7 separate regions of the Homo sapiens genome follow, and regions 2, 3, 4, 5, 6 and 7 are each linked to region 1. Evidence: promoter capture Hi-C in 16 types of primary human blood cells and fetal thymus (Javierre and others, 2016). All regions are on one chromosome and are shown on one strand. The core of a region is centred on a gene start or on the middle of the fragment in contact, and the rest is flanking DNA. Distances in the headings are between cores, read along the strand shown. Region 1 holds the start of LINC00525 (long intergenic non-protein coding RNA 525). Region 2 overlaps TNS3 (tensin 3). Region 3 overlaps TNS3 (tensin 3). Region 4 overlaps TNS3 (tensin 3). Region 5 has its middle 210 kb from the start of SNORD151. Region 6 overlaps TNS3 (tensin 3). Region 7 overlaps TNS3 (tensin 3).

Region 1 (3,408 bases), core at 87-2,586:
CAGCTGACTTCACTAAAGGAGGCCAAAAGGAAAGAAAAATGTGACAAGTGTGTTTTGATGGCTGATGCGCAGGCTCCCAGAGAACCTTCAGAAATCAGGTGGGAGTTGGAAAGATTTTTGAATTGTCCTCCTGCAATAGCATGTTGAAGAAAAACTAGCTAAATATACTTTATGTGTAATTCCATGTCCATATGCATGATTTCTTAGGTGGCAACCAAAGGCAAGGAGTTCCTGTGCAAATGGTATTGCCAATATTAAGGTTCTCAATACAGTATATATTTTGTTGTATTCATTTGCTAGGGCTGCCAGAACAAAGTTCCACAAATTGGTTGCCTTAAACAACAAAAATGCATTGTCTCACAATTTCTGGAGGACAGAAGTCTAAGATCAAGGTGTTGGCAGTGTTGTTCCTTCTAAAGGCTGAAGGAGAATCTGTTGCAGGCCTCTCTCCTTGGCTTGAGGACAACCATCTTCTCTCTGTGTCTCTTCCCATCATCTTCCCTCCAGGCATGTCTGGGTCCAAATTTCCCCTTTTTATTATTTTTTATGTATTTATTAATTTTTTTTTTGAGATGGAGTTTCACTCTTGTTGCCCAGCCTGGAGTGCAATGGCGCAATCTCGGCTCACTGCAACCTCTGCCTCCCGGGTTCAAGCGATTCTGCTGCCTTAGCCTCCCAAGTAGCTGGGATTACAGGTGCCTGCCACCATGCCCAGCTATTTTTTTTTCTTGTATTTTTAGTAGAGATAGGGTTTCTCCATGTTGGCCAGACTGGTCTTGAACTCCTGACCTCAGGTGATCCACCCACCTCGGCCTCCCAAAGTGCTGGGATTACAGGCATGAGCCACCATGCCCAGCCAAATCTCCTCTTCTTTATAAGGACACCGGTCATATTGGATGAGTCATATTGGATTACATGCCCACTCTACTCTAGTATAACCTCATTTTAATTTGATCACATTTTCAAAAACCCTGTTTCCAAATGCAGTTGCATTCTGAGGTACTAGGGGTTAGGACTTGGACATAGACATTTTGGGGGACACAATTCAACCCTTATTTGCCAAATCACTTTTTAGAATGATTAAGGCAATTAATGATCTTCTTAAAGTGAAGAAACAACCCACAGAATGGGAGAAAATATTTGCAAACTACCCATCTGACAAGGAATTAATAACCAGAATATATAAGGAGCTCAAACAACTCAACAGGAAAACATCTAGTAATCCAATCAGAAATCAAAATCTAGTAATCCAAATAAAAAATCAGAAATGAATAGATATTTCTCAAAAGAAGACTTACAAATGGCAAACAGGCATATGAAAAGGTGGTCATCGTCACTGATCATCAGAGAAATGCAAATCAAAACTACAATGAGATATCTCACCCCAGTTAAAATGGCTTTTATCCAAAAGACAGGCAATAACAAATGCTGGTGAGGATGTGGAGAAAAGGGAACACTAGTATATTGTTAGTGGGAATGTAAATTAGTACAACCACTATGGAGAACAGTTGGGAGGTTCCTCAAAAAACTAAAAATAGAACTAGCATATGATCCAGCAATCCCAGTGCTGGGTCTATACCCAAAAGGAAGGAAATCAGTATATTGAAGAGATATCTGCACTCCCATGTTTGTTGCAGCACTGTTCACAATAGCTAAGACTTAGAAGCAAATTTACAGTCCATCAACAGATGAACAGATAAAGAAAATGTGGTACATATACACAATGGAGTACTATTCAGCCATAAAAAGAATGAGATCCTGTCATTTGCAACAACATGGATGGAACGAAACTGGAGGACATTATGTTAAGTGAAATAAGCCAGGCACAGAAAGACAAACATCACATGTTCTCACTTATTTGTGGGATCTAAAAATCGAAACCATTGAAATCATGGACATAGAGAATAGGAAGGATGATTACCAGAGGCTGAAAAGGATAGTAGAGGACTGGGGAGATAAGGTGGGAATGGTTCATGGGTACCAAAAAAAAAAATAGAAGAATGAATAATACCTACTATTTGATAGCACGACAGGGAGACTATAGTCAATAATAATTTAAGTGTACATTTTAAAATAATTAAAAGTATAATTGGATTGTTTATACCACAAAGAATAAATGCTTGAGGGTATGGATACCCCATTCTTCATGATGTGCCTATTTCACATTGCATGCCTGTATTAAAACATCCCACGTACCCCATAAATATATACCCCTACTGTGTACCCACAAAAATTAAAAATAAAAAATTTTTTAATCTTGTCAACAGTGTATTAGGACATTGTGTTGTTGCAATTTCCTTAGCATCAAGTTCCGTCTTTAAAAAAAAAAAAAAAAAGCTTACTGATAGGTTTTTAGAGCCTGGTAATTCATTCTTTTTTGTTTTTTGTTTTTGCTCCGTTGCCCAGCCTGGAGTGCAGTGGCACAATCTGGGCTCACTGCAACCTCCGCCCCCTGGGTTCAAGCAATTCTTCTGCCTCAGCCTCCCAAGTAGCTGGGATTTTAGGTGCCAGCCACCACACCCGGCTAATTTTTGTATTTTTAGTAGAGATGAGGTTTTGCCATGTTGGCCAGGCTGGTCTCAAACTCCTGACCTCAGGGGATCCACCCGCTTCAGCCTCCCAAAGTGCTGGGATTACAGGCATGAGCCACTGTGCCCGGTCGGTAATTCATTCTTAAGTAAACTGGCCATATATGAATTGGCCATTTGAGTTCTTTCACAAAATATAAGACTATTTCCCCCCTTACAGTAGCTATTGTTGAATAAGATGCCAAGAAGGACAGCCAGCAATAGAGAATCAGTGCACAGATGCACTGGCAGGATTACCGGGTACATCTCCACCTCACTAACACCTTCTAGAGGTCACCATGAGCGTGGTGGGAAGCAATTTAGAATCAGAAGCACAGGGGTTCAAATCCCAGCTCTGGGACTTTCTAAATGTGCTCTTTTTCCAACTTTTTGAAGCCTGTATTATCTTATACGAAAAATCTTATCCTCTTCACCCAACTTTTCAAGGATTAAAAAATCCTCACATGGCATATTGCTGCACCACACTCTGTGGTGCATTATGGATGTCCAGTAAGGTGCATGGACCCTAAAGCTGCTCTGAGGACCAGATTCTCCCCATGGAGTAAACAGGCCACAGGTTGTTAAGGGAACCAGATGCTCGTGAACAACAGACCATTCATATGGATTAGCGAGTTTCTGCAAGGAAGAAGAGGGCTTGATCATCTCATTATTTGTTTCATGTGTCAGAATTGAATCACAGTGGAGCATTCATTGACCTAAAATTAAATTACTTGTCATATTTTTTATTCAACCATTTCCTCCTTTCCTTGGTAAATATAATTTTTTCTCATTCTAATGAAGCTCCTTGGAAACATCAAATCACTGCTTTATTTTAATCAGA
Region 2 (3,416 bases), core at 846-3,345, 360 kb after region 1:
TATATGTTTTTGAGTACCAAGTGCCCTCTCTCTAGAAGCTTATGCCCTTTAAATAATATATTCATATAAATATAGCATATCATTATTGGATAATGAATTATATTAATATGTAGTGCTAATTTAATCTTTATAACAACATAGCCAGGTCAATATCATAATACTCATTTTGCAGTCAGAGAATTTAAAGTCTAAAGAGGCTGCAACTTTCTCAAGATCTGAGTGCTCCCAGCGATTTGTGATGTCAACATCACACCCACGTACTTTTGTGGTTGGCTCTATGATAGCATGGTGACAGGCTGTGCGCAGCCTTTGTTGTGGTGCTTGCTATTTCTTATTTCATTTTTCTATGCTACAAAATTGTGACTGCACATCTTTGAGTTGTTATTTTAAATGCAGATATTCTAAAATCTGAAGGCAAAGGATCAACATATTCTAGAAACACTCTGGGGAGACCCAGGTAAATAAAGTTAAAGCCGGAGGGATGAAGGGAAAATTATAGACTTGAATCAGTCTAATCTTTACGAAATGTTTGCATTACTATTATATCTTAAAGGGAGGCATTTGGGGGCCCTCGTACCAAGTACCATGTTGATTGTTCTTTCTGTTAAGTATTACAAGCATAATTCTGATCTCTTGCCATTGCTCCTAAAAAGATTTGTTGATGTAGATAATGCATAATTATTGCACACTATGGAGGGCTCCTGGTTGGTGAGTGGATTTTGTCTCAAGATCTGACCTGCTGTGTTGATGGTGGTTGCTGGGAGCCCCGAGTTAGGGAAAATCCTGTGGTTTTCCGTGTCTTTCAGAAGAAGCTGGAGTCAGTTCATGATTTGGTCAGGAGGACTGGGGAGGGTGGTGTTTACCTCCATTAATCAAGAGGAAAGAGGTTTAATATGAAACAGGGATTGTGTATGATGAGGCCGTTAGGATCTCAAGCCAGCAAACAAAGTTAGCATTAAAATACACAGAGAAACCCCTGAAGGGAGGGCCACGTGATTTCAGGCAGCAGTTGTTCTCTGCCAGTGGGATAGACCGCTCTTTCTTTCACTGTGGAGCCTTAGGAGTATTTGAAAGCTTGTGCTGTGAAAAATAGGAATCTTACAGGAGAATCATATGGGGCCTGGAGAGGAACCTGTTTGGGACAGGCCGATTCCCATCTCCTGCCACTCTGTACCTCCTGGGCACCGTGGCCTGCCTTCTCCTCCCTTCTGGTATGTGGAGGGAGCTGGGATTGCTGCGGGAGGAGCAGTGTGTTTGTGTGTAGCTGCTATGAGGAGCAGTGGGGGGACCTGGGGGAGCATCCTGGATTCCTGAAGAGGGAGGGCAGGACCTGGCCTGGAAGGAGGCCCTGCGCTGGGCGGGGCGGTACTGACGGGAGGGGCACGGTGAGCTGCGGTTGGGGATATTCCACTGTGCCCCTTATGTGGCCCGTACTGGAGCCCACAGCTCCCTCTGTTTTCACCCAGGACACTCCCTGCCTGCCAGGACTGAGCCCACAGCTGCCTCCTGAGGAGTTTCCTGACTCCTGTGGGCAAATGTTGGCGCCCATGGCAGCACAGGCTGCGTGAGCTATCAGCTGACATCGTGTTGTTGTTTTTATTTTTTTAAATCTCTGGTTCCCTTAAATATTTATAAAATTTGAGAGCAAGACTGGCTTGAATTGGGGCATCTCTTTTCCTTTTCCCTTCCCTAACCACTTTTCACTCCCCATTTGCAAGGCACTAGTGGAGGCAGACAGGCACATTTGAAGGCAGACAGGGAAAGGTGGGTGCTATCATCTCTATCAATGGGGGTGCATGTGTGGATTTACCCTTGGCCAGAAGGACCTCCCTCTGGGGATCTCTACAATATGCCCCAGGTTGAAGCATTTGATGGGTGGTCAGTGTAGTGAGTGTGGGGCATGGGGAGCTCAAAGGAGGGGCCCAGATACTCTCAGAACATCCTGGAAGGATCCCTGCAAGGGCAGCCTTTGATTGAGTCTTGCTGAGAAGTCAGTCTCGGACAGAGGTGGTAGATTTGTGGCCAACGTGCCATTGGCTGTTGGAAAGCAAATTGAGGCAACATTTCTTCACAATGCCAGTTTTCTACTTGCAAACGCCCTGGTTCCTGGGCCCCTGGAGGCCAGGCCTGAGTCTGAGCCCCATGTTTACAGCACCGCTGGCCAGCGCCAGGCCGTACAAGGGAGACCCAGTCATGTTTGTCAACAGGGAACATCCTTCCACAGTCTTAATTATATTTTTTTGGTTTATTTACCCGTCCCTTTCCTTGTAGATAGCACAAAGGTAAACATCTTCTGGGTCTGCCTGGAGTCACAGCTCCCTGCCTCCTGGGCTGGGTTTCTGGGCTTTTTGTTCCTCTGGTGGATGTTCATCTGGTTAGGGAAGACCCTCCCTGCAGAATTCTCCCGCATGCTGGTCCGGATCATACCTGCTGCGGTGGCTTCTCATTTACTGTTGTGAGGCATGTGATATTTTAAAGCCATCTTTCTCCAAGAAAAGTCTCTTTTATGGGAACGTGGCTGTCTCTGGTAGTCACTACCCCACAGCCTCGGGGTTGGGGAGGTACCTGCCTGTGCACGATTTGGTCTGAGAGCAGAATCCAGCCTGTCCAGGGCCTTCGGCCTTCTGGGGATTTGGGAAAGTGCCACTACCTGGTGGTCCTGCCCCTGATCTCTGAGTGAGGGGTATCCCTGTCCCTGCAGCTCCCCCAGCTGTGGCCTGAGAACCCTTCCAATGATGCCAGTGCTGCGCACGGTCACAAGAAGCAGGGGGGACCTAGTTATACAGGCAGGTCAGGACACTCAGGCTCCTGCTCTGCCCACCGTTCCCCACATGCCAAGCATCTGCAAGGAGGGGCTTGCTCTACCCTTTGGCTCATTGGCACAATCATTTAGGGTGCTTGAGCTGCACCCTGGGGACCTCATGAACCCCAGCTTGAGTTCAGATCACATCAGGGTGATTCTGAACACTTGTCTAAATGCCAACACCCTCTCTGTCTCCCTCTCTCCCTTCCTCCTTCTTTGTATCTCTGTCTCTAAATTACAGCATGCACATAATCATTTAGGATAGTACACACAGTAATGACCGGCTGCTGCTTTTTGGAAAACAAAAAGCTTTAAGTTGCAACATGGAGCATTGAGATCAAAGAAAAGCTATCACAATCAGTTGTTAAAGTCTAGAAAAAAGAGACCATGGAATTCTATTTTTCGGATGTGTTCCAAAACAGGGCACATTCACGTGGTCTGAAAGGGTTTAGGTGTGGCCTCTCTGAGGACTAGCGATAGTGGTGTTCAGAGCTGCGGTTCCACAGGAGCAGCACAGGGAACACATTGAAGCCTCCAGTGGAGCCCCGCACCCAGCAGCAGCAGTGTGGTGCCTCTGCCTGCACCCCAGCTGTCTGCAGGCGCCTGTGCCCCA
Region 3 (3,594 bases), core at 766-3,265, 380 kb after region 1:
AGTGACGTTCTTGGTGCTGGCGTTGACCTTAGGAGTAACAACACTCTTGGGGTCAACAGCTTTCAAACTCTATGCCTGTGGCTCCAGGATTCCAAGTTGGTTCTTAAGGAGCAGCCCCAGTCTCTCTCCATCCACTCCTGTAAGAACCCTCCACAGCCCCAGCCCCACCTTGATCTTTTTCTGTTTTTATATTGGGTTTCTGCATAAAGATTTGTTTGAAGATCAAGTTCTGCTATTGAAAGTTGGGCACTCTGGCCCTGTACAGTTGATTCTGGGACTTTAGATAGTTAAAGTTGTGTTTAAATGTTGACAAGCAAGCTACTTGATGTTAAACATGCATTCAGTTGCATATAAATTGTCACTTACTCTCTCTGTAAGTCCAAGGACAGAGGGGATGCAGTTGTTGTATTCTGTTACTGTTATCTAAGATGCCATGGAGGGCAGGGCATGTGAGGTAGAAGGCATAGGTGTCAGAGACTAGTGGGTGTGTTCCTTACTTAAATTTTTTAACATAGCACAGATTGCAGGGATATTTTATGTAAAACATCCAGCTATTTCTTGAAAAACAGGGTTGATATAATGGCAGCTTGTGCTGTTATGTAAGAAAAGCGAGCTTTAATGGATCTTCAGACTTGCTCAGTTTATCTTGCCGATAGGAGCAATTCTGACCTACTTTGGGGATGAAAGCTGGTTTTCACAGCACTCCTTTCCCCCTGTGGACACTGTGCTGGATGGGGACGCATGCCAGGCTGAGCAAAGCTGAGACCGCCTCGGCTCGTTGCCTCAGCACAGCCATATACCTAGAGCCTGCCTGGCTGTCTGTCGGGGAGACCTGGCATGGAGGTCCATGGATCGGGGTAAGAGACAGGGTGACCACTTTGCTATGTGAGCCAGGAGTGTTATTAGAGCATGTCACAGAGAGGGAGCCAAGGTCAAGGCCTGTCGAGGGTGGACACCCAGTGACAGTTGCTCTGGAGCTGGGAGCCCAGATTTAAATCCCTAGGGCCCGAGAGACTGATGCGAAGTGCAGGGAAAGCCATTGACCCCAGGAGCTGGGAAAACAGGTTTCTGTGGACAGGAGGAGGGCGTCCCCAGCAAATGTCCTGTGTGCGCTCCGCCTGCACCTGCCTGTTGTGGATGTGGGGGGACCCCCTCCAGTTGATAGGGCCTAGGTGGAGGGTACAACTGCTCCCAGGAAGTTTTCTTCCACATAGCAAGAGCCAGAGATGTGTTTAGTGTTTCTTTATAAGTGCATAGTGATGATTTCTTAACAAGGAAAATACACCCTTTGACATAGTAGTCTTTCAGACTTCACTATGGAAAGTTGAATTAATTTAGGATTCATGGTGTTGACAGTCTATGGGAAATTATACTATGAAAATTCAATAGTATTTATTTTTGTCAGTGTGAATGTGAGCTAATTTATGACCTGGGATATATTCTCACTGAAATTAGGCCAAACGGTTAGAGCAATAGCAAGATTTGGTGTTGATTGATTGTGGGAATTCTGCCAAGATCTCAACAGCCGTCCTTTGGTGGCAGCAGTAGCCATACATTGCCCCTGAACTCGTAGCAGTGAGTCTGGGATGCTGCTGGGCCCCTGACTAGGATGAGGCAGAAGGAAAAGCGGCGGGGGAGCCACCGAGTGATGGGCACTATGGGTGCTTTCCTGAGGGTGGGAAGAGGCTGCGAGGAAACCATCTTTCTCGTAGTATTGGGAGTTCATTCTTTATTCCTGTACATGTAATATATTGCTCTCTTGTTAATCATAAATCGGAGGATTCCAATAGGTCACCTGGGGAGTGAAGGCAGAGTGTCACCTTCTGGGAAGCTCATGAAAGAAAACCAGAGGCCACGTGTGCTTGTCAGGCAGGCTCTGTAGGATCCAGGATGCAGTCTCCATCTCCTCCCTGCCTCTCTGAGCATCGGCAGTGCTGGATGCTGCAGATACAGAGCTGAATTGGATGGCACAGCTCCGTGCAGAGGCCAGGACAGGGCTGGAATGGCTAATGGTTGTTGTTGTCAGAGCTCACCCTTGCTGAGTGCTGCTCACGAGCTGCACAACCTTCCGAGCATGCAGCTTGCATTAACATATCTAATCTTTACCACACTGAGGGGTCAGAGGGCTAGTTGGTGAAGCCAAGAGTGGGGGCTTGGTCGCCGGCTGTGAATCTCCTTCTGCTGATGTGCTGAGCTCAGTTCAGGCAGGGACTGGATTGACAGAGGCAGGAGACTGAGAGCACCATGAGTGTGTCCAAAGCAGGGTGCCTGGTGCAGGAGCCAGGATGCAGAGAAGGGTAGAGAGCAGACTGGGAGTGAGTTCACTGGCTGTGGCGTCACTTGACCTGTACAAGGCAGGCGAGGTTGTCTGTTGGGAGTGGACAACAGTCTGGGGAGTGGAGGTGTTGAGAGCTGGGACAGCTTGGAGGAGCTTCCCCTGGCAACAGGTGGTTGTTGGGTGAGCAGTGTGGTGTGCCCAGTGATGTGTGGACGCCACACTGTTACGGCCTCTGTGATTTCAGAGGCATGCACATCAGCAGGGGCATGGACGTGGGCCACAGGCGAGGGAGACAGCAGGCCTTGTGGGTCTAGATGGGCTAGGAGAGGAAGCACCATGGATCTGTGTTGCCCTCGATGTCTTAAATTTGGTGCTGGAGTTAAACATACATTGGCTGTGACTCCACTGTGCTGAGGGAAGGGCTGGATACATGCAGAGAAGAGCAGGAGCCAGGGAGCTGTAGCGGCTGCTAGAGAAAGGAGAGTCCTGGCCACCACTCCTGAAGAGCTCAAGGCTTTCAAAGTTTGGTGGAAGTTGAGGGTATGTCATGAGAAATTCTAAAGTCAAACCAAAGAAAGTTATCTAAAGTCCAAAGAGTCAAGGCCAGGGCCTCAATAAAATGTTGATGGTTTCCCAGGAGAAGCCACAGAAATGCCGGTGATGAGAGTGTTTGAACCTGGACCAAGGGAGGCATGGACGTTTGGGGGATGGGCTGGGAAGTGAGGGGCAATGGCAGCCCGCAGGGCTGGAGAACGCTGTAGCCAGGGGTACCAGTTTCCAGAGAGAAATGAGTTTTGGGTGAAAGTGTTCTGAAGTGGAGTGCAGGAGGCACAGGCTGCCCCTTCCCGGCCTCTAGGCACACAGCTGCCCCTCCAGAGACCCCCTGGGACGGGCCTGTCTGCCCATGTGGGTGGGGAGGGGCCTGACATTGGAGCAGGGATCACACAGGCTCAGTGTGGTGGACAGGTAGGGATGTCAGCTCAGGAGGATGAGTCCTTGGAAAGAAAGTTGGGAGAGGAGCAAACGGTGGAGACAGTGGGGGGAGAATGGGTGGTCACGGGCTGGAGGGACCTGCATTTGTTGAAAGTTGGTGGTGTCATGTTTTCAAATCAGAACTTTCTACCAGAAGCTATCTGAATTTAGATGTCACTTTCATGTGTCTCTCCTTATGAGGAGGAACTTCACAGGAGGCCCTGCGTGTCACTTTCTGACCTGCAGTCCAGGTAATGGCCTCCTCAGAAGCCACACCCTGATCTGTCTAGGTGGACAGCTTTCTTTTGGCCTGGAACCCTGCACTAGAGGGTGCAGCATGTGAT
Region 4 (3,556 bases), core at 750-3,249, 410 kb after region 1:
TGTAAAAAACTGCAAGTTGTGCGGCTCTTTAAGGCTATGCCCTCCACGTGGAAGGGGCTGGTCAATCAGTCCTGTTTCAGTTTTGGGAGAAGACTCCTAAAACCATTTCTGGGAGCATTTCAGCTGGGAGGAGTGTTGGGGCATCCTTGTCATGCCACCCTGCCTCCTTTTACACACTGTCTCGAAAAGATTAGTGTGTGTGTGTGAATGAGCTGAAGTCTGGAGGCCTCAAGCTCACCGTGAAGCAGTCTTTGCCTGTTATTTGTTTTCACTCCTAGGAATGCAAGGGAGCTTCCAGAACCTATCAGGCACACCTGTGTGATGTCGCGCTTTATTCCTAGAAGATCACATCAAGATAAATCAGTAGCTTATGGGGACTTTACCTTCTAGTGCCCAGATAGAAAATGAAAGAAGGCATGTTTTAAAATAGGTAATGTTCTAGCATGTCATGAGTTTTCACCTGTTCTTATTTTTTAAGTTAATTAATTAATTTATCATTTGAGATAGGATCTCACTCTGTCACCCAGGCTGCAGTGTAGTTGGTGTGATCACAGCTCACTGCATCCTTGACCTCCTGGGCTCAATTGATCCTCTCACCTCAGCCTCCAGAGTAGTTAGGACGACAGGCATGTGCCACCATGCCTGGATCATTTTTTTTTTTTTTTGTATTTTTCTGTAGAGACTGGGTTTCATCATGTTGCCCAGGCTGGTCTGGAACTCCTGGGCTCAAAAGATCCACCCTCCTCAGTCTCTCAAAGTGGTGGGATTACAGGCGTGAGCCACTGTGCCCGGCCCCTGTTTTTTCTATGTTTTAATTAACTTATTTATCATCGTATTTATTTAAGGTGTTTAACATGATATTTTGTTTGTTATATCTATACATAGGGAGAGGATCACTACAGTCAAACCAATGGACATATCCACCACTTTACCTAGTTACTTTTGTGTAAGAGCACCTAAGGTCTACTGTCTTAGTCAATATTGCATCCTGAAGATTTGCTCAGGGAGCGGATTCCGTCTCTTTTAGAACAGAGGTTGGACACTTTGTCTTGCATGTTGGAGTCACCTGGGGAGCTTTAAAAATGCAGACGCTAAAAATGTGGGTACCTGCTTCTACCTCCAGAGGGTGGCAGATTGAGTTGGCCCTGGTGGGGCCTGGATGTCAGACTTGCTTTAAAAATGCTCCCCAAATAATGCAGTGCTAATTCAGGGTTGAGACCTGCTGTGATTCTTGAGCTTGGTTGTGTGTTGGAAACACTAGGGAGTTTTTAAAAATACTGACACCTAGGTCTCACCGCTGGAGGTTCTGACTTCACAGGTGAGGCCCGAGCTTTAGGATTTTAGTGATAAAAGGTGGACAATGGCCTTTGAGAACCACTGTTGTATATTTGCAGTTCTCAACTTAGGTGCGTGTCCCAGCCTCCAGGAGAGCTGGCCCTTGGCTCATTGAGGCTGGAACGTGCCGCAGGGTGGTTCTAAGATTTGTGACCCTGCTGTGGAATTTAGAGGACAGCCAACAGTCACGTATTGGTTATCAGAGGCAGAGGCAGGCGACCCCATGGGCTGCCTTCCACCTGGGTGCTGGCTTTATTTCACCAGGGCAGAGTGGGCTATGTGACCCCACAGTGGAGAGAATGCAGTGACATGAAGTGTGTGAGTGGGCAGCATGGTGGGTGTCCGCTCCTGAACACTTGACCCATCTTCCTTCCCCTCCCTCATCCCACTTCCCAGCAGAGCCTCAGGGCCTGGGATCTGCCAGGCCGTGCGCTGGCAAAGATCAGTCTCCAAGAGCAGTCTGAATCACAGAATCACAGCTCAGGGTCAACATAAGTACTGACTTACCTATCAGGATGTGTTATTTTACACTCTCAATTAGTTTACATAATTGGGAGTTCAGTGTATTTGGACAAGGTGGAAAGTTGCCGAAGAGCTTTGTGGGTGTTTTAAACAAAATTTAAAAAACATTTTCTGGCTAAGCGATCTGAGAAGCCCTCTCCTGCACTTCAGACTGCTCAGGGGTGAATTGATGGCAACAGTGCTGACCCCCAGGCTGGGCTGAGTTCAGTCCCACATGTGTTTAGTACAGCACCCAGTGTCTTGGCCTGAATCCCTGATTCTCCAGGGCTCTGACGGCGATGCATCCCCTTCTCACGAGGCCCCTGGGTGCCCCCAGTCAAGGACTGGCTTTCCTGCTCTTTCCTCAGAGCACGTGAGGATTCCCTGTCAGGACCGTCCCCCACCCTGTTGTGGTGGCTTTGGATAAGGTACGTCATAGGATGCACCTGGGGCTGAGGCCCCACCATCCCCAGCTCCTCCTGTGGGGCCGGAATGACTGAGCGTCCTCCTGCCTCGCAGGCTCGGTGTCCTTTTGCACCCTGTGGTGAATCCCAGATCCCGCTGGGCGTGGCGGAGTCTCAGGTGACCCTGCGCAACTTGCTGGCTGGGCAGCCCTCAGCACGTTTCCTTATCTGTCCTTGACGCCGGCTCCACCCGTGAATAACAGTGAGACTGCTAAATGAGGAAACATGCTGGTCTTTGGGAGTGGCAGTGTAGGGGACTTTGGGGCATGTGTCCCATTTTATACTCAAGGTCACGTGGTTCCCGAGGCTCTGGGTGGGTAGCACCCAGTGTCTGGAGGGAAGGAGGCTTGGGCGAAGACAGCTAAATGCCTGGTGTGGGGACTGCCCAAAGAGATGGGCAGCGTCCAGTCATGTGACCTTTGGAGACCATGTTACCATGTCATGTTTTGGTGGACAATGAGCGTGTCACCGCGACAAGAGGGGCACAAGACTGTGTAAAGAAAAAGCCACTGCCTGTCCCTCCCTCCACAGAGACCCCAGCTGCATGGAGTGGGTGAAGCTGCACATCACCTGCAGATCACCGGGGTCTGTGTTCACTGGGGGTTTCAAGGGGCCTGAGATTTCTGCACTGAGTACTCATGACCTTTGTAAGGAGAGGATGCAGGATTTTTTTTTTTTTTTCCTGGCTGGGAACTGGCAGGGAAGTAAGGGCAGCTCTTCCCCAGCACCTGGGCCTCAGGCTGGGAGCAGGGTGGGCACAGGTGTGAGAGATCAGGGTGTGTGTGCCATGGGTGCAGCCAGATGCAGGTGCCCCCCTGCCCCACCCCAGGGCTTTGGGAGCTGCCCTTTGCCCGTGAACATCCCTGTGTGGGAGCTTGGGTTTTGTTCCCTTTCTCCTTGGTTTTTCTGAGAAGGGGTACGTTGGGGAGCTGGGGGTGGGAGGGCGGATCGCCCAGAGCCCTGCAGGTGCTCTCCAGTGCTGGCAAATTCCCTCTTGTCCCCTTATCAGCTCCTTCCAGAGGTGACAGCCATCTGTGTGGTGGCAGCTCTCTCCTGCTCCCATGAGGTCTCCTTTTTCTTCTCTTTTCCTGGATTTGACTTCTTAACTGAACAGAAAAATATATAGGCATGGACAGTTTTGTAGTAGTGTTTGGAGAATAGGCCTTAACAATATAATTATTCAATTCATGATTTCATTGTTCAAACTGCCCAATCTCATTGCATTACGGCCAGTTCTTTGTCGTACCTTGGAATTT
Region 5 (3,828 bases), core at 635-3,134, 500 kb after region 1:
TGCTGGGATTACAGGCATGAGCCACTGCACCCAGCCTTGACTTTTTAATAATAGCCATTCTGACTGATGTGAGAAGGTGTCTCATTGTCATTTTGATTTGCATTTCTCTAATGATTAGTGATGTTGAGCATTTTTTTCATATGCTTGTTGGCCACATGTATATCTTTTTTGAAATGTGTTTGTTCATGTCCTTTTCCCACTTTTTAATGGGGTTGTTTGTTTTTTGCTTGTTAACTTGTTTAAGGTCTTTATAGATTCTGGATATTAGACCCTTGTCAGATGCATAGTTAGCAAATATTTTCTCCCATTCTGTGGATTGTCTGTTTGCTCTGTTGATAGTTTCTTTTACTATGCAGGAGCTCTGTTGTTTAATTAGGTCCCATTTGTCAATTTTTGTTTTTGTTACAATTGTTTGGCCCTCCTGGCCAGGGTCTATATGTCCAGAATGGAATTTCCTAGATTATCTTCCAGAGTTTTTACAGTTTTAGGTTTTACATTTAAGTCTTTAATCCATCTTTAGTTGATTTTTGCTTATGGCATAAGGAAAGTGTTTAAATGTCAGTTTTAAAAGAAATAACCTCTCCGATTGACAGAGTTCTTCGTGACAGTGTGTTTTAGAGCTGTGCACTGATGATCCTCCTTCTCTGTTTGTGGGTGAGAGTCAGGCTGGTCAGTCCACGCTGTGTGATCATGCTCCTGGGACTCCATTTTTGAAAAGGGTTGCTGTGAACATGGAATGAAATTATGTGTAAGAAGAACTAGTACAAAGCCAAGGACATAGTGAACTTTCCATAGATTGTGCTATATCTTCATCATCACCATCATCATCATCTTCACCATTATCACAATCAACATCACCATCATCATTATCCCCATTACCATCATCATCATCACCATTATCACCATCTCCACCATCATCATTATCACCATTACCATATCCTCATCACTGTCATCATCACCATTACCATCATCATCATCATGGTCATCACATCATCACCATCATCATCATCATCATCACCATTACTGAAAAAATCATCACTTTATCATCTCTTCATTACCATCATCATCATCGCTGTCATCATCATTACCACCACCATCATCATCATCACCATCATCACCATCATTATCACCACCATCCTCAACATCACCATCACTATCACCATTATCACTACCATATTTATCAACATTTTTTTGTTATCAGGCATCAGATATGATCATCTTTGACAACCTAAAGCCAGGGAAGGAGTATGAGTTGGGGGAAGCCACTCTGGTGGGTGTTAGTTTATGTAAAAACTATATTTACATGTTTGTGTCTGTGTATGTGCCATTGCCATGTGTTATTCTCTCTCCCTCTCTCTCATTTTTTTTTTTTTTTGGCTTCTGAAGAGCTATTGAAAAGTATTATAAGCTCAGCACAGTGGTGCATGCCTGTTCTCTCAGCTATTCAGGAGTCCAGCCTGGGTAACAGAGTGAAACTCCATCTCTAAGAAAGAGAGAGACAGAGAAAGAAAGAGAGAGGGAGGGAGAAAGAGAGAGGGAGAGAGAGAGAAAAAGAGGGAGAGAGAGAGAAAAAGAGATAGAGAAGGTGAGAGGGAGAGAGGGGGCGAAAGAGAAAGAGAGAAAGAAGAAAGAAAGAGAGAGAAAGAAAAGAAAAGAAAAAGGAAGAAGGAAGGGAGGAAGGAAGGGGAGAGAAAAGTATGATAGGAACTCAAAATAGGAAACATCTACCTGGGTACTAGACAAGCTTCCCAAGGGCGTAAGAAGCAAACACCTCCTTGCTTCTCTCCTCTTTGCAGTCTTATACAGAAGTTTCAATTTCTCTCCTTTCTTTGGTGATTCACAGTGATGTTCATCCACGGTTTTCTCTAAGTAACCCCCTTTTGCATCCTGGCTACCAGAAGTAGCATCTTAGGCAGGGACTCCAGTCTGGCCAGTGTCATTCCTGGCTGCCCAGTGCTGTAGGAATGTCTCAGAGGAGCTTCCTTACAAGGGTATTTATAGGAGTGACTTTTCTCTAAGCTTTATAATGCTAACTTCTAGGGTATAACTATTTTACACCAAAACCATTGATTTTCTCTATTGAGTATCCTCTATGTAGCTTCAATAGTGAGAGACATGCCTGGAAAGTCAGGGCCCTGAGGTGGGGGTTTCCTAAATCTTGGAGCAACTCTCCTAAGCCCATACAGCCTGAGATTCACTGTGGGCGAGGCTGGTCATGAGGAAGAGCTTCAGGGGCAACAGGAACCTGGGGTCTTCTTAGGGCAGCCAAAGTCTGTCTCCAACCCCTCTCCCAAGATTTGGAGTGCACGGGGGGCATGTTGGGAGAGCTTGGCCGCTCTATGATGGCCCAGTTGAAAGCAAAGAAGAAGACTCCTGGAATGAAATACTGACAGCTGCCTGAGGTGTGGGTGAAGCTGAAGGATGTCTACTTGCCACCCTGGGTAAGATGGCAAAGTTACTAGTCCTTCTGGCATATGGCCAAACATGACTGGGTGTGTCTCATACATACTTAGTGTCTTCAATGGGTTTATTTCCCTCTAGTTACCCAAAGCAAAGCAGGGAAAGGCATGTGGCAAGTTCACACAGTTACAAGTAAAAGTGAGGGTTGAATTAAAAAGGAAAAGATTTGAACAGATACTTTCTGGAAGAAGATACACAGATGGTAAGGCAGCACATGAATGTAACAGCATGAGACACTAGGGATATGCCGGTTAAAAGCACAGTGAGCTCTCATTCCACCTCCCTTAGTTCAAAAACAAGGCAAAGCTAAACAAAACCAAAAATGGACATTATCAAGTTCTGGCAGAGGCAGAGAAACTGGAACTCTTACGCTTGCTGGTGGAGATACAGAATGGGTCAACTGCTTAGAAAACAGTTTGAAGGGGCCGGGTGCGGTGGCTCACGCCTGTAATCCCAGCACTTTGGGAGGCTGAGGCAGTTGGATCACGAGGTCAGGAGTTTGAGACCAGCCTGGCCAACATGGTGAAACCCCATCTCTACTAAAAATACAAAATTAGCTGGGCCTGGTGGCACCTGCCTGTAGTCCCAGCTACTTGGGAGGCTGAGGCAGGAGAATCGCTTGAACTCGGGAGGCGGAGGTTGCAATGAGCTAAGATTGCACCACTGCACTCCAGCCTGGGCGACAGAGCAAGACTCCGTCTCAAAAAAACAAAACAAAAAAAAGAAAACAGTTTGAAAATTTCCCTGTAAAGTAAAACTTACATTTACCATGTATGTTGCAGCAATCTCCCTCTTAGGTGTTTACCCAGTGGAAATGAAAGCTTATGGGTCACACAAAAACTTATTACATGAATACTTAGAGCAACTTTTATTTATAATTGCCAAGAATGAAAACCTAATGTCCTTCAGCTGATGGATGTACCAACCAACTGGGGTACATCCATCCAATGGAATATTATTCAGCAAAGAAACCCCAAATTATTGATACTCTCAACAGAATGCAAGAATCTTAAAATAATTATGCTGAATGAAAGAAGTCCAACTCAAAAGACTACAAACTATACAATTCCATTTATATGACCTTCTGGAAAAGGGAAAGCCTTAGGGATGGAGATGTCCTGGGTTAGAGATGGGAGAGAGCTGGATTTCAAAGGATGGTGAGAAAGACTTTTGAGGTGGGTGGAACTTTTCTGTCTTGATTGTGGTGCTGGTTCCATGATCCTGTGCATTTGTCAAAACTCATAGAACTGTAGACGAGAGAGAGAGACAGAGAAAGGAATTGCATTGTACGTAAATTTTAAAAATAACTATAAAATGTGAGGGTTGGTTTCTGAACAGAGACCTAATAAGTTATCTGAGTAATATTAG
Region 6 (3,767 bases), core at 1,257-3,756, 470 kb after region 1:
TTACCTGATAGGCCTTTTGAAAATATTTTCTTCCATTTCATGGCTTGCCTTTTCATTCTTCTACAGAGCAGAAGTTTTTAATTTTAATAAAATCCAGCTTATTGATTTCCTGTTTTATGGATTGTGACTTTGGTATTGTATCTTAAAAGTCACCACCAAACCCAAGGCCAGCTAGATTTTATAGTTTCAAATTTTACCTTTAAGTCTGTGATCCGTTTTAAGTTAATTTTTGTGAAGGAAGTAAGGTCTGTGTCTTGATTCATTTTTTATTTTTTTGCCTGCAGATGTACAGTTGCTTCTGTACCACCAGTTGAAAAATCTGTCTTTTCACAGTTGTATTCCCTTTGCTCTTTTGTCTAAGATCAGTTAACTATATTCATGTGGGTCTACTTTCGAGTTCTTTAATTGACCTATTTGTTCTTTCACCAATATCACATTTTCTTGATTGCTTTAGCTTTATAGTAATCCTGGAAGTCAAATAATGTCAGTCCTCCAACTTTGCTCTTCTCTTTCAATATTGTGTTTGCTATTTTTGATCTTTTGCCTTTCTGTATTAACTGTAGAATCACTTTGTTAATATCCACAAAATAAGTTGCTGGGATTTTTATTGAGATTGCATTGAATCTATAGATGAAATTAGGAAGAACTGACACCTTGGCAAAAGTTGAGTCCTGCTGTCCATGAATATGGAATATCTCTCCATTTATTTAGTTTTTTGTATCTTTCATCAAAGTTTAATAGTGTTCCTCATATAGATCTTGTCTATAGTTTGTTAGATTTATATGTAAGTAGTTTTTGGGAGGTGCTACTGTAAATGGTATTGTGTATTTAATTTCAAATTTTACTTGTTTATTGCTGGTCTGTAGGAAAGCAGTTGACCATTTGTACATTAACCTTGTATCCAGCATCTTTCTGTAATCGCTTACTAGTTCCAGGCCAGGTTACTTTTGCAGCATTAGATGCAGTCGTAGTGGCCCCAGTTTAAGAAGGTTGTAAACAAACCACACACCATAGGGCTCTTGTGGTTCTGTGGCCATGAGGGAGGGACACAGCTAGAGAGGACAGTGGGGACTGCTGACTTTCAAACCCTGACTTTCAAAACTGTTTTAAGTTTTTCATGCAAGGTAGGTGTTTATTGTCAGAAATGTTGGGGAGGGAATTTCTGAGTCTGGTAGAAAATTGGACTAGAAATACCTCCATTCTGTACCTCATATCTGCAGAGTAGTTTACAGGTGTAACTCCACAATGAAGGTGTATGAAATGTATAGGCATTTTCTTATTTCCTCTACAATTTGTATTATTCTTCTATGTAGCTTTTCCCTGTAAAATTATACATCACTGTGTCTGTTACCAAGCTAAAGTAAAATTACTCTGTTTTGAATGGAATTTTGTAGTGTTTAAGTTATTTTAGACTCTCCTTATAGGATAAGTTATCTGTGGCCAAAACAAAGGTGAAAATAGCTTGCCCCAAATTGCAAGTGTGCTAAAACTCGAAGCTCCAAAATGAAAAATGTAGCTGTGGTCATGGGTTTCCGGCCATGTTCTGCTACTCAGGATTTTGATCTCTGGCAAATCACTTAGCCATGCGGACCTGAGGTTTGTATCTGGTCAGTGGGGATAATAATATTTCCACACATAGCAGTTGAAAAGATTAAATGAATAGGACATTGACAATGCCTTGGGAGCATTTTTCTGGCCCAAGAGGAATGGCCTTTCCTGGGAAGCCGGCCTCACCCTTTCCCTTGTGAGGGACCTGGGCTGGTCCTGGGCCACAGCCCCTAAATCTGTTTTAGGGGGTCCCTGGAGCCCATCATGGTTCTTAGCTTTCTTCTGTTAAAGTAACAGTGGACCCTGTCTGTGGGTCCCAGTGAAGTGCCCAGAAGGATGCAGGAATTTACTGTAGACCTATCTGATGAGCAGCTCACTCACTCTCAACTGAGGAGACAGGGCTACAAAACCAGCTCCACTCTGATGGATTTATTTGTTTCAGTTGCACCTTTTAAAAATGTATTTGAAATTTTGAAAACCTTTAATTAGTGGTTTTAAAATCACAACTTATGCATCGGCAGTGTTCAAGAAAGCGCAGAAGAACGGTGATAGCAACAGGCACAGAGCACTTGTCCTGCCCAGCTTATTGTCTCCTCCCCTTCACCCACAGGGCGTGTGGGTGTAGTGTCCTGTCATCCCATGTCATAGACAGAGGACCCAAGTTGGCAGCTCTGGCTCCTGAATGGTAGATCTAGGCCTGGCATTCAGCTCCCACGTCCAGCTGTGCCCATATTGTCTCAGGGACACAGCCCTGCCCATTCAGCCCTATATGGTAGCACCAGGGCACACGCAATTTCACTTTTCTCCTTAAGCTTCTTAGTTATCCTGCATTCACCCAGTAAGTGTGGAATTAATAAATGAATTGAATGAATTTAGTTGATCATAACAGTGCATCCTAATAGCACTTGTTTTTAGATATTAAAACTTTCTCTTCTATCTTGACTTATCATTTTTAAGTGCACTTCCATCTTTTAAAATTACGTATGAAATGTATCAATAACTCCAAATGTTTTTTAAGGGTGGGTCTTCTTAGAGTCAAGACTTCATTCAGAACTTGGAGTTTGTATCTGATCATCTGAGTTGGGCATTTATATATGAAGCTTAAATTATGACTGCCTTGAGCTTCTTTCCTTTAAAAATCTCATTTCTGAAACACATTGAGAGCTGCGAATGTCTGCTGTCCATTACATTAACCGCGATTCCAAGCCACGGAACCAGGACAGCAGATCTGTCACCAGAGGAGTGAGGCTGTCACAGTGACCACCCCTCAGCTAGTGTCGTCTTCACCTGGAGGATTGGCTGCAGGTGTTTAGAATCAGTGCAGAACAACCATTGTAGCAAGACGGTGGAATTATTGCAATCTCTGATGACCTCCAGCAATTTAGTGAGTTTTCTTTCCTAAACTGAACTTCATCTGTTGTCCTAATTCACTTAGAGTCCTAGACTCCTGGATGTGCAATGTTCTTTGAGATGATCATGTCCAATTTCCCCGTTATAAAGATTCAGGAAGCTGAAACTCAGAAATATTAGCAGACAACTCACAAAGATGGGAATAAACTTGTAATGCTCTCCAGTTTAATCCCTTTTTTTAAATATTAAGGCCATTATGCCTTTGTTCCAATCTCTAAAACAATTTCTATTTGTGTTTTAAGCCTCGGTTCTTAATTGTTTCTTGTTGAAGCAGAGGAATATAATATAATCCTGAAAAGAAAGACTTACTTCTTTTCAGTAGCCTTCTAATAGATTTCCCAGAAATGTTGCAGTTGCATTTTTTAGCATATGGTAGGTATACTTTTTTTTTTTTATAGAGTCTTATATGTTCTTTAAGTTTTAAAAATGGAAAATAAAAGAAAAGGAAAAATGAACTACTCATAGATCGGTTGCCCCTATGCAGCCCCTGAATATTGGGAGGAAGAGTGGACAGCAGGTAAAGTGTTCTCCAGCCCAAAGACCACTCCTGATGTCAAGCAGATCCAATCCTATGCTGCCTTTTTCCTTGTACTTGGGGTCATGCTGCCTGTACGATTCTTTTCTCTTCTCTTAGCATAATAAGTTTACCCATGGTTTTTACAAACATAATGCAGGTCTCATTTTTTTCATGGCTACACAATAGTCCATCATATAATTCACCTCCTTATGGATGTTCATTTACCATGTTTCTAATTTTTAATACCACAGACAATGCTTAGAGGACCATCTTTCTGCATTATTTATTTTTT
Region 7 (3,839 bases), core at 1,222-3,721, 330 kb after region 1:
AGTTTGAAAGTGTTTGCATTTCTTCAGCTTTCTGGCAGAGTTTGCATTAGTCTGTTTTCTGTTACTTATAACAGAATATGTGAAACTGGGTAATTTGTAAAGAAAAGGAATTTATTTCTTATATTAATATTTATAGGGGCTGAGATGTCCAAGCTCAAGGGGCTGCGTCTGGTGAGAGCCTTCTTGCTGTTGGGGATTCTGCAGAGGTCCTGGGGCTGCATGGGGCATCACATGGCGAGGGGGCTGAGGGTGCTAGCTCAGGTCTCTCTTCCTCTTCTTAGAAAGCCACCAGTTCTACTCCTGTGATAACTGGTTAATCCATTAGTTAATTAATCCACAGATGTATTAACCCATTCATGAAGGCAAGGTTCCTCATGACCCAATCATCTTTTATAGGCCTCACCACTCAATACTGCCACATTGGAGATTAAATTTCAACATGAGTTTTGGAGGGGGCTAATATTTAAACCATAGCGAAGTTTTCTCTTTTTTTCGGTGATGGAATTCATCAGTTAAGTGATCAGGTCCTGGGCTTTTCTTTGTGGGAGAGTTTATATTACTGATTCAATCTCCTTACTTGTTATTGTTTTGTTCGGATTTTCTGTTTCTTCATGATTCAGTCTTAGTAGGTTGTATGTGTCCAGGAATTTATGAGTTTGTTCCAGGTTATCCAATTTATTGCTATGTACTTGTTCATAGTTTTTTATGTTTCTTTGTGTCTTAAATGGCATCAGTTATGATGACTGCTCTTTCATTTCTGATTTTGAGTTTTCTCTTTTTATCTTATCTAGGTAAAGATTTGTCAATTTTGTTAGTCTTCAGAAAACCCAACCCTTAGTTTTGTTGATCTTTTCTATTGTTTTTCTAGTCTCTCCTTTATTTGTTTCTGCTCTGACCTTTGTTTTTTCCTTCCTTTGCTAATTTGGGGTTTAGTTTGTTCTTTGTTCCTTCAGGTACAACATTAGGTTTTGTGTTTTGTTTTGTTTTTTGAGACGGAGTCTCACTCTGTCACCAGGCTGGAGTGCAGTGGCGTGATCTCGGCTCACTGCAACCTCCAACTCCCAGGTTCAAGTGATTCTCCTGCCTCAGCCTCCCTAGTAGCTGGGATTACAGGCACGTGCCACCACACCCAGCTAATTTTTGTATTTTTAATAGAGATGGGGTTTCACCATGTTGGCCAGGAAGGTCTTGATCTCCTGACCTCGTGATCCACCCACCTCGGCCTCCCAAAGCGCTGGGATTACAGGCATGAGCCACCGCGCCCTGCCTGACATTAGGTTTTTTTATTTGAGAGTTTTTTGTCTTTTAACATAGGCATTTATTGCCATAAACCTTCCTCTTACAACTGCTTTTGCTGCATCCCATAAGTTTTGGTGTGTTGTGTTTCAATTTTTGTTTCTCCCAAGATATTTCTAAATCTCTCTTCTGACTTTTTTTCTTTGACCCAGTAGTTATTTAGGAGTATGTTGTTTTATTTCCATAAACTTGTGAATTTTCCAAGATTCTTCCTGTTATTGATTTCTAGTTTCATACCACTATGGTCAGAAATGATACTTGAGGCCAGGCGCGGTGGCTCATGCCTGTGATCCCAGCACTTTGGGAGGCCAAGGCGGGCAGATCACCTGAGGTCAGGAGTTCGAGACCAGCCTGGCCAACATGGCAAAACTCCGTCTCTACTAAAAATACAAAAAAATTAGCTGGGTGTGGTGGCATGCACCTGTATTCCCAGCTACTCGGGAGGCTGAGGCACGAGAATCGCTTGAACCCAGGCGGTGGAGGTTGTAGTGAGCTGAGATCATGCCACTGCACTCTAACCTGGATGACAGAGGGAGACTCCATTAAAAAAAAAAAAAGAAAAAATACTGAATATGATTTCAGTCTCCTTAAATTCGTTAAGGTTTGTTTTGTGGCCTAACATGCCATCTATGCTGGAGAACTTTCTGTGTGCACTTCAGAAGAATGCGTATTCTGATGCAATGTTCTGTATATGTCTGTAAGGTCTATTTGGTCTAAAGTGCAGGTTGAGTACCCTGTTTTCTTACTGGTTTTCTGTCTAGGTGATCTGTCCATTGTTGAAAATGGGGTACTGAAGTCCCGTACGGTTGTGGTATTTCTATCTGTCCCTTCAGATCTTTTAATATTTGCTTTATAGGCCGGGTGCAGTGGCTCATGCCTGTAATCCCAGCACTTTGGGAGGCCGAGGCGGGGGGATCACCTGACATCGGGAGTTCGAGATCAGCCTGACTAACATGGAGCAAGCCCGTCTCTATTAAAAATACAAAAAATTAGCCGGGCATGGTGATGCATGCCTGTAATTCCAGCTACTTGGGAGGCTGAGGCAGGATAATCGCTTGAACTCGGGAGGTGGAGGTTGCCGTGAGCCAAGATCGTTCCATTGCACTCCAGCCTGGGCAACAAGAGCGAAACTCTGTCTCAAAAAAAAAAAAAAGAAAAGAAAAGAAAAGAAAAGAAATACTTGCTTTATACATCCATAAATAGTGCCACAAAAGTGATTGATAATGGGGTGAATGTCACCACCATGTGTGCCTGTTTTGGCTGAGGTGTTGTTTCTTTGTAGGTGAATTGCTGTCAAATATAGTTTTATGCAAGAGGTATACTAGTAGCCATACCATTAATAATTGCACGTGCCAGGATTCAGCTGCAAAGAGTGTATCAAGTGCCCGCATTGAGTATCTATAAGGCATGCTCTTGACTTTCACTGACAGAGAGAAGGATGCTCCTGGGTGACTTTCATGTATGACTGGGCTTATCAGAATTGTGACTTGAATTTGATCAGTAGTTTCTTCTCAAGAAGTTAGGGAGCTACATATTAGAGGCCCTGCCTTTTTGGCTTTATATGATTCCAGATCAGGGGTTGGCAAATATTTTTAAAAACAGCCAGATTAGGCCGGGTGCGGTGGCTCACGCCTGTAGTCCCATAGTCCCAGCACTTTGGGAGGCCGAGGCTGGTGGATCACAAGGTCAGGAGATCGAGACCATCCTGGCTAACATGGTGAAACCCCATCTCTACTAAAAATACAAAAAATTAGCTGGGTATGGTGGCGGGCGCCTGTAGTCCCAGCTACTTGGGAGGCTGAGGCAGGAGAATGGCGTGAACCCGGGAGGCGGAGCTTACAGTGAGCCGAGATTGTGCCACTGCACTCCAGCCTGGGGGACAGAGCGTGAGACTCCGTCTCCAAAAAAAAAAGAGCCAGATTGTATTTTACACTTTTCAGTCCCCGTGGTCTTGCTGCAAATACTCAAACCTACCCCTGCAGTGAGAGTGAAAGCAGCCCTGGATGTAGGTAAACAGATGGGAGTGGCCATGTTCTAGTCAAACTTTGTGTTTGGACACTGAAATCTGAACTTCAACACATTTTCACATGGCATGGAATCTTATCTTTTCAAAATTTTTTCTTAATAGTTAGAAAATGTAAAACTAACTCTTAGCTCACAAGTTGTGGGAAAGTAGGTAATGGGCAGAAGTAGCTCCTGGGCTGTGGTTTGCAATCTGCTGTTGTAGGTTGTAAGAGTATGTTCTAGAAGGTGGCACTCTGTGGCCCTGGGTGAAGGTGGCCTGTCCAATAGTTTCTGCTTCTCCTGCTGGTGTTGCTGGTCTGTGGGCTGGGCTGTTGGTGTCTGTGGTTATGGTTTGAGTGAGTCCTTTTCCAGAACTTCTGCCTGGGACAGTGGTTCCTTTATGTGTAATGAGGGTGGGCTGCGGCGGTGTATGTGGAGCTCAGGTGCCGGCAGTGCTGCCAGTAAGCTGGAATCTATGTCCCATCATGCTGAGCTGTGTTTGCAGCCCTGATCATTGTCAGCCCGTGAGCAGGCAGGCG

What was found. Contacts are between HindIII fragments. The CHiCAGO score rates a contact against its expected background, and 5 or more counts as called.
Region 2: a contact is called between a fragment that was not itself captured here and the fragment with the promoter of LINC00525 in region 1, in 4 of 17 cell types (M0 macrophages, naive B cells, total B cells and 1 more). The highest score is 8.4, in M0 macrophages.
Region 3: a fragment that was not itself captured here is called in contact with the fragment with the promoter of LINC00525 in region 1 in 2 of 17 cell types (total B cells and M0 macrophages); the score reaches 8.6 in total B cells.
Region 4: a contact is called between a fragment that was not itself captured here and the fragment with the promoter of LINC00525 in region 1, in 3 of 17 cell types (naive B cells, total B cells and erythroblasts). The highest score is 9.8, in naive B cells.
Region 5: a contact is called between a fragment that was not itself captured here and the fragment with the promoter of LINC00525 in region 1, in 4 of 17 cell types (total B cells, naive B cells, erythroblasts and 1 more). The highest score is 6.8, in total B cells.
Region 6: a contact is called between a fragment that was not itself captured here and the fragment with the promoter of LINC00525 in region 1, in 5 of 17 cell types (total B cells, naive B cells, fetal thymus and 2 more). The highest score is 11.6, in total B cells.
Region 7: a fragment that was not itself captured here is called in contact with the fragment with the promoter of LINC00525 in region 1 in 6 of 17 cell types (total B cells, naive B cells, M2 macrophages and 3 more); the score reaches 13.0 in total B cells.

What each region holds. Positions count from the first base shown.
Region 1 is chr7:47,759,404-47,762,811 of GRCh38, reverse strand. It overlaps LINC00525 (long intergenic non-protein coding RNA 525), which reads right to left and starts at 1,336. Exons shown (of 3, transcript NR_038407.1): 1 at 1,299-1,336. The HindIII fragment of the contact is 4,383 bases long and covers 1-2,339 here.
Region 2 is chr7:47,401,063-47,404,478 of GRCh38, reverse strand. All of the region lies in intron 13 of TNS3 (tensin 3), which reads left to right. Among named protein-coding and RNA genes, the nearest start is that of SNORD151, 62 kb to the left of the region's middle. RefSeq lists enhancers at 841-1,349, 3,096-3,416. The HindIII fragment of the contact is 2,038 bases long and covers 1,077-3,114 here.
Region 3 is chr7:47,383,817-47,387,410 of GRCh38, reverse strand. The region is part of intron 16 of TNS3 (tensin 3); the gene reads left to right. Among named protein-coding and RNA genes, the nearest start is that of SNORD151, 79 kb to the left of the region's middle. The HindIII fragment of the contact is 5,773 bases long and covers 1-3,594 here.
Region 4 is chr7:47,354,033-47,357,588 of GRCh38, reverse strand. The region is part of intron 17 of TNS3 (tensin 3); the gene reads left to right. LOC124901629 (a long non-coding RNA gene) reads left to right here. Exons shown (of 2, transcript XR_007060319.1): 1 at 1-3,556. Among named protein-coding and RNA genes, the nearest start is that of SNORD151, 110 kb to the left of the region's middle. The HindIII fragment of the contact is 8,931 bases long and covers 1-3,556 here.
Region 5 is chr7:47,257,640-47,261,467 of GRCh38, reverse strand. No RefSeq gene overlaps it. Among named protein-coding and RNA genes, the nearest start is that of SNORD151, 210 kb to the left of the region's middle. The HindIII fragment of the contact is 275 bases long and covers 1,747-2,021 here.
Region 6 is chr7:47,286,691-47,290,457 of GRCh38, reverse strand. The region is part of intron 27 of TNS3 (tensin 3); the gene reads left to right. Among named protein-coding and RNA genes, the nearest start is that of SNORD151, 180 kb to the left of the region's middle. The HindIII fragment of the contact is 288 bases long and covers 2,363-2,650 here.
Region 7 is chr7:47,428,742-47,432,580 of GRCh38, reverse strand. All of the region lies in intron 8 of TNS3 (tensin 3), which reads left to right. Among named protein-coding and RNA genes, the nearest start is that of SNORD151, 34 kb to the left of the region's middle. The HindIII fragment of the contact is 8,256 bases long and covers 1-3,839 here.